Linked DNA regions of Homo sapiens: region 1 is linked to region 2. The links are contacts of gene promoters, found by promoter capture Hi-C in blood cells and fetal thymus (Javierre and others, 2016). All regions are on one chromosome and are shown on one strand. Each heading gives the region's core, a stretch centred on a gene start or on the middle of the fragment in contact. The rest is flanking DNA. Distances are from core to core; before and after follow the strand shown.

Region 1 (3,708 bases), core at 556-3,055, 230 kb after region 2:
TCTTGCACTGTCATCTAGGCTGAGTGTAATGCTGCAATCTCGGCTCACTGCAACCTCCACCTCCCGGGTTCACGCAATTCTCCTGCGTCAGCCTCCTTAGGAGCTGGGATTACAGGCGCCCGCCACCACACCAGGCTAATTTTTTGTATTTTTAGTAGAGACAGGGTTTCACCATGTTGGCCAGACTGGTCTCGAACTCCTGACCTCAGATGATCCACCTGCCTTGGCCTCCCAAAGTGCTGGGATTACAGGCGTGAGCCACCATGCCTGGCCAGTTTCCTCACACTTTTAAAATCACAGGATGGGCCAGCGCAGTGGCTCACGCCTGTAATCCCAGCACTTTGGAAGGCCGAGGCAGGTGGATCACCTGAGGTCAGGAGTTCGAGACCAGTCTGGCCAACATGGTGAAACCCTGTCTCTACAAAAATACAAAATTAGCGGGGTGTGGTGGTGGGTGCCTGTAATCCCAGCTACTGGGGAGGCTGAGGCAGGAGAATTGCTTGAAACTGGGAGGGAAGGTTGCAGTGAGCCAAGACTATGCCACTGCACTCCAGCCTGGCAACAAGAGCAAAACTCCATCTCAAAAAAAAAAAAAAAAAGTTTGAGGAAACTGTATAATCTCTTCTCTATAAAAATCTTGGGATTAGAAGAATGTCTCCTCCTAACCATGTCACCTGACCAAACACTTCGAAATTGGTTTCTAAATTATAAAATCTTGAATAGAAATATACAAAAGTGTCACTGTCTAATAACTAAAATGATTACCATTTGAGACCAAAATGTGTTGTTGTTGTTTTCCAAGAGAAAGGAAGCTAGAGAAAATGAACAGCTTTTTAAAACCCAGGGAGGTAATTTAATTTTTAGGTATCAGGACGTGTCAGCAAAAGAGAGACTGTCTTAATAGAACTGAGAAATTGTTTGGCAGGGGGTCATTATACATCAGTGCTTCTTAGCCACTGTTATTGACATTTCCCACCAAACAGTGCCTCACCGTGGGGGGCAGAGTCTTATTCACTGCCGGGCACTTAGCATCCCTGACCTCTGCTCACTGAAGACAGTGGCCAGCCTCTGCCTCATCCTGACAAAGAAAAAAATCTACTGTCCTTGCAAATCTCTCCTGGGGGGCAATATGGCCCTTGGTTAGGAACCAGTTCCATCTGCTGGTTTCAAAACCAAGTCTCCAGCTCACATTTCTGCTGGACAGTTAGTTACCAGAACGCTGAGTACTGATCATATCTTATATATAGAACACCAAACCTGGCCCCGCATACATAGGAACAAGATTGTCCTTGCCCTTGGGGAACTGAGTCTGGTGGGAGAAACAAACTCAAAATTCATTCCTGATGTTGTATGTTAAGAAAGACAAGTTTTCATTAATGGGTTCATCTGAGTTGACATTCATTTTGTTGCTATTTTTTGTTTTTATTTTTTTGAGACAGAATGTTACTCTGTTGCCCAGGCTGGAGAGCAGTGGTGTGATCTCGGCTCACTGCAACCTCTGCCTCCTGGGTTCAGGCAATTCTCCTGCCTCAGTCCCCCAAGTAGGTGGGATTATAGGCACAGGCCATGACACCTGGCTAATTTTTGCATTTTTAGTAGAGATGGGGATTCACCATGTTGGCCAGGCTGGTCTTCAACTCCTGACCTCAAATGATCCACCTGCCTCAGCTTCCCAAAGTGCTGGAATGGATTATAGGCATGAGACACCGTACCTGGCCTTATTTTATTTTTATAAATGGGATCTTGCTTTTTTACCCAGGCCGAACTCAAAATGCTCTGGGTTCAAGGGATCCTACAGCCTCAGCCTCCCCAGTAGGGGCTACAGCTGTGCAGATGTGAGGTGGAATTTCACTAAAATCTGAAGAAGAGAAATAAATCACTCAAGTAGGAGGGTGGGGAGAACTTTCCAGTGATGAAGTTCAAACAGTGTAAAAATGCCAAGGTGAACAAGGACTTGGAATGCTTTGGATGGGAGGAACAAGGTAGGGGATGGGGTTGGGAGGATGAGGCAAGGCCAGGATGGGTTTCAGGGCCTAGACCACACAGGGAGGGACCCCTTGTCAGGCCTCTGGAGGGGCACACGTTAACAGGCTGACAGCAGCACTGTTAGTAACTGTGCCTGTTATGCAGACACAGGGTTATTACCACCACCAAGCAGGAAGGCAAGAGAAGAGGAAACCTTCCCAAATCACAAAGAGGGGGACTTGTCCTCCCATTTTCTTATTTCCACAAAGAGCTGAGAGCCTTTCAAGGCCTCCTCTCTTCATTCTCGTAGTGGCCCTAAGTAGCCGGTGGTGCCCAGTGAGGAGAGATCCAGGTAAATACGCTGTCCTCTGAAGCCGCCTATAGCCAATTAGGTTTAACGTTATCTACCTCTTTTTCCGTTGCAAGATTTTTTTTTTAATCAAATCAATGTTAAAATTTTGGCTTGATTTAAACAATCATACACAGAGGGTGGGGGAAAAAAAGAAAGAAAACTTTGTAACTGTAAGCATTATTTTAAAAATTACATTTGGTCCTAAACACTCTCTTGATTCTGGTGATGGTTTCAAGAGCATTCAACTTTATTAAATTTTACACTTTGAACACATACAAAGTTTTCTGTATTCCAATTAGACCTTAATAAAATTGTGCTTAAAAAAATAAGCAAACCAAAACCAAAACAAACCAACAACAACAAAAAAAAACCCAAACAAAAAAACAAAACAAAACCAACCACCCTGTACACGCCATCTGGCAGGCTTTGGGAAATACGCATGGTCACCTCATAATCGTTAATCTATTAAGTCAGAGGGTGTGTACATGTAAAATTGTTATGTATATTCTTAAATTGCCATCTCCTCTGTTCGAGCTATGTTTTTCTCTTTCACCAATAAGGAAACATAGTATCATTTTTTTTGTCCACTGAAAGACTCAAGTGTGGCCGGGGAGCAGTGGCTCATGCCTGTAATTCCAGCACTTTGGGAGACCGAGGCAGGCAGATCACGAGGTCAGGAGATCGAGACCATCCTGGCTAACAAGGTGAAACCCCGTCTCTACTAAAAATTGTGTTTTTGGCCAGGCAAGGTGGCTCACACCTGTAATCCCAGCACTTTGGGAGGCCAAGGTGGGCAGATCACTTGACATCAGGAGTTTGAGACTAGCCTGGCCAACATGGTGAAACCCTGTCTCTACTAAAAATACAAAAATTAGCCAGGTGTGGTGGCACATGCCTGTAGTCCCAACCACTCAGGAGGCTGAGGCAGGAGAATAGTGTGAACCTGGCAGGCGGAGCTTGCAGTGAGCCGAGATGGCGCCACTGCACTCCAGCCTGGGTGACAGAGTGCAAAAAAAAAAACTCCATCTCAAAAAAAATAAATAAATAAATGAAAGAAAGACTCAAGTGTCTGGGATGCTGCCTCTATCCAGGCAAATTTTGTAAAGCACCTATGGACCCGCATCTTTGATCCGCCATGAATTCTGTTAGTGCTTCTTCATTCTGTGTGTCTCACCTCTGAAGAGGATGGGATGTGGTCCTGCTGACATCTGGCACCTCAACGTAGGTGCCTCTGTACAGTCAGCATAGACTCAGTGAATGCCTGCAAATCCACACCAGGCCATGTTGCTTCCCAGCTTACTCCATTCAGAGGGTTCCAGTTGCTTTTATTTTATTTATGTATTTATCTTTTGGAGACAGAGTATCACTCTGTTGCCCAGCCTGGAGTGCAG
Region 2 (3,385 bases), core at 82-2,581:
GAAGCCAGTGGGAAGTGGACTTGGGCCCTCTGGGAGGTGGACTTGAGGTGGGACACGGAGGCAGGGACAGGGACGACTGCAGAGAAACTAAGTAAGAGCAAGAGGCAGGTCTGAGACAGCAGGAGACAGCCAGGAGGAGCTGAGCTTGGAGGAGAGGGCCCCAGAGTGGTGCTGCTTAGAGTCATTCCCATACGGATGGTGTTTAAAGCTTTGGGGCTAGACAAGGCCCCCAGGGACAGAAATGGGCAGGGCAGGGCAGGGAGGTGGAGCTCAAGTTCTCCACTGGTTTCGCAGCTCTCCGGCCCCTGTGGAGGGGAAGTCCCACTCTGGGCAAATCACGTGGGGGTGGCCTCTGCCAGGAGGCACCCATTGCTCTGCAGCCTTTGGGGTCCGTAGCTCTGTCTAAACAGGCCTTAAGTATGCTAAGAGTCGTCGGCTGGCAATCGGTGCAACGTGGGGTAACACACCGTAAGTGCCACTTTCTCCCCATCCATTCATTCATTCATAAGCCTAATGAGCTGGGTCCCTACCACAGAATGCAGCTTCCCTCATGAGGGCTGGGCCGTGGCCCCATCCAGAGGGCACGGCACAAAGGTTCAGAACCAACATGCCACCAGTGTCTTTTCTGCTCCTTCCAGGGAACTGCCTTTTCTCTGAAAGCTCCCTAAATAGCTTGAGTGAAATTCCCTGGAAGAAGTCGGCTAGACAGCAGGCCCAGTGCCTGGCTCTGTCGCTCTTCTTTCTCTTTGTGCGTTTTTAACTTTGACAGATACTGCCTTCGGGACAAGCGAGCCCTCTTCTACATCCCCCAGACAGGCGCCTTATCCCCTCCTCTTTCCAGAGGAGGCCACCAGGCCCAGCGACCTCACAGCTCTCCCAGCTTCCTCGCACCAGAAGCGCACGGGGTGCCCTGCGTGTCCCACACCTGCTGCAAGACCAGGGCGAGTCCCTAGTCAGGCCACTTCCTGGTGCACAGGGATAGGGCAGGGAGAGGCAGGGCCTTGCCTTTGCTCTCCACCAGGTGTGAGTGCCTGCCATACCCTGACCCTCTGTCTACGCACCTGGGTCCCGGCGGAGTGGCTGGACCAGGCCTCCCCGGAAGGGGCACCAGCCTTGAGTAAACGGATGCCCACAGTGTCTGGGTGCTCCCAGGGCAGGGCCGCAGGGCCTCAGGGCCATACCCGCCTCGCAGGTGGGGCGGGCGCCCTGGATGCGCTCCCCGCGCCGGGCACCAGGCGTCGCCCCCGCTCCTCGCAGCGCCCAGGCCCCCGCCCCCGCCGCGGAGCCACAGCCGGAGCTGGAGCCGAGGCGGCGGCGGGACGCGGCCGGCCGGACAAATTTCCTGCTAGGCTGCGGACAGCGGGCGGCAGGAGCCGGCGCGAGCGGCTTCAGGAACCCACGGCCTCTGCGCGTCCCCGCGACCCTTCTTCGCGCCCGGCGAAGACAGCCGGGCGCCCCGGAGGGCGGCGGGCAGGCGCCCGGGAGATGCGGAGCCTCCGCTGCAGCGCGATCTGCGCGACCAGACCGGCCCCCCCGAGGTGAGCGCGCGTGCGGACAGGGACCCTGCGCCCCTGTGGGGAACTGTGCACCCCGGGAGGCCCAAGCAGGCCGGGGCGCTGCCTCGGCCGCTGCCGCGGGAGGGAGGGGCCGCTCCGGGGCTCAGAGTCCGGACCCCGGCCCCGCCGCCCCCGCGGCGCGCCCAGTACCAGCGGCTGGGGCCCGTACGACCCCCGACCCCGGCCTGTGGCGCGTCCCCTCACCCGGAGTCCCCAGCCCAACTTGGCGACCACAGTGGCAGTGCTCACGCTCCCTCTCGGTAAACAGGAGGAGGGCGCGCGTGTCTGCGGGTGGCTACAGTGCGCGGGGGCCGGCGGCAGGGCGGCGTACGTGAAAGCGGGCGACACAGAGAGGGGGTGCAGGCCGCGCGTGGGGGGCTGCGCCCACTCGAGGCTGGAGGCTGGAGCCTTTGAAGAAAGTGGCTCGAGTTGTGCCAACTCTGGGAGGGGCCGGCGCTCTGCCAGGATGCTGCCCCGCAGCCGGGCGGGCGCCCGCGCCTTCCCAGGGAGGCAGGTGGAGCGGGATGCAGCAGCCGCCGGGGGTCGGAGATGCGGCAGGGAGACCCTGGCAGGTGGTCCAGGCTGGACTGCCGCGATTTGCAGGGTCGACGACCTCACAGGGCTCCTGAGCACAGATGCGAGCGCGGTGCCAATTCTGAGAGCTCCCGGGACCATCTGGGGAAGGCCGGGCAACCCACAGGATGGGGAGGCAGAGCCAAGCCGGATGGAGACCGCGCTGGACCTGACCTAAATTCCTTCCAGGCATGCAAACCTTTCCAGAAAGATTAGGCAATTATACTTGCAGAATTATGATATTGGTTTGTCTTGAGTCGTGACCATTCCATCAGAGTTTCAATCCAGGAAACTCAAAGAAAGAATACAGCTCTCTGCTTGTATTTTAGAGTGAATGAGCGTATAGGTGAGTTGAATGAACACCAGCAAAGAGTGATCACGTGATACAGAAATTACTGTGTCCATGTCCAGTCAGCTCTGCATTTGGCCCCAGGTACCCCTTGACCCAGGGCGTCTGGAGGTCTTTGTGTCCCAAAGATGGATGAAGTTCTGCCTCTGCACACTAACGACTCTTGTCCATTTAAACTGTGTGTATGTGGGTGGGGAGGGGGGGTGTGGAGGGTCGTTTCCAAAACTGGGATAATGGCCAGAGGAGGGCATGAAATGGTGGGGGCCAGTGGCTGGGGCAAGCGTCTGACCACCACGGTCACTCAGCCAGCATGGTATGGGCAGAGCTCTGTGGTGTGAACAGGGTTAGGGTCTGTACTTTCCAAGCACAGGCTCTTGGCATTTGGGGAGCAAAAGGTCAGAGGCGAGGTGGAGCAGGCCCAAGAGGTGGGGGCTGCGCTGTCAGTGAGAGAGGCCTGACGTACCACCCAGCCCTTCCCAGACAAGGCTCTGCCCCTGAATCTGACCTTGGGGGCCAAGATTTTTGTTCATTGATGTTGGTGATGCCTGTGAGTCACCACCGCCCCCTCCCTGCCCCAACAGACCGTTCCCATGTGGACAAGAGCTAGGAGCTAGATTTGTCTCTGTAAAAGGTCAGGTCACTGGATGTGTCCAGATGGCTTGGGACTTAGTCACACACTCCCTCATCAGTTCCAGTCAAACCAGTTGAGGGAAGTCGATGAGGGTGTTATTGTCTTTACGTGTGATGCTTCTTGGAGGCCCTGTGTGGACACAAAGTGAGGACAATGCGGAAAGTCACACAGAGGCCACCTCTCATTTCTGTGGGGGACAGCTGGCAGAGAGAGATGCGCTCCCTGTGTCAGCACCGCCACCTCCACGGAAGCCTGGAGGAGGTCCTGAAGCACTGT

Evidence for each region. Contacts are between HindIII fragments. The CHiCAGO score rates a contact against its expected background, and 5 or more counts as called.
Region 1: a contact is called between a fragment that was not itself captured here and the fragment with the promoter of PTPRE in region 2, in 6 of 17 cell types (monocytes, activated CD4 T cells, M0 macrophages and 3 more). The highest score is 8.1, in monocytes.

Annotation. Positions count from the first base shown.
Region 1 is chr10:128,139,617-128,143,324 of GRCh38, forward strand. No RefSeq gene overlaps it. Among named protein-coding and RNA genes, the nearest start is that of MKI67, 15 kb to the left of the region's middle. The HindIII fragment of the contact is 6,764 bases long and covers 1-3,708 here.
Region 2 is chr10:127,905,772-127,909,156 of GRCh38, forward strand. It overlaps PTPRE (protein tyrosine phosphatase receptor type E), which reads left to right and starts at 1,332. Exons shown (of 21, transcript NM_006504.6): 1 at 1,332-1,538. RefSeq lists a silencer at 1,176-1,295. The HindIII fragment of the contact is 4,276 bases long and covers 207-3,385 here.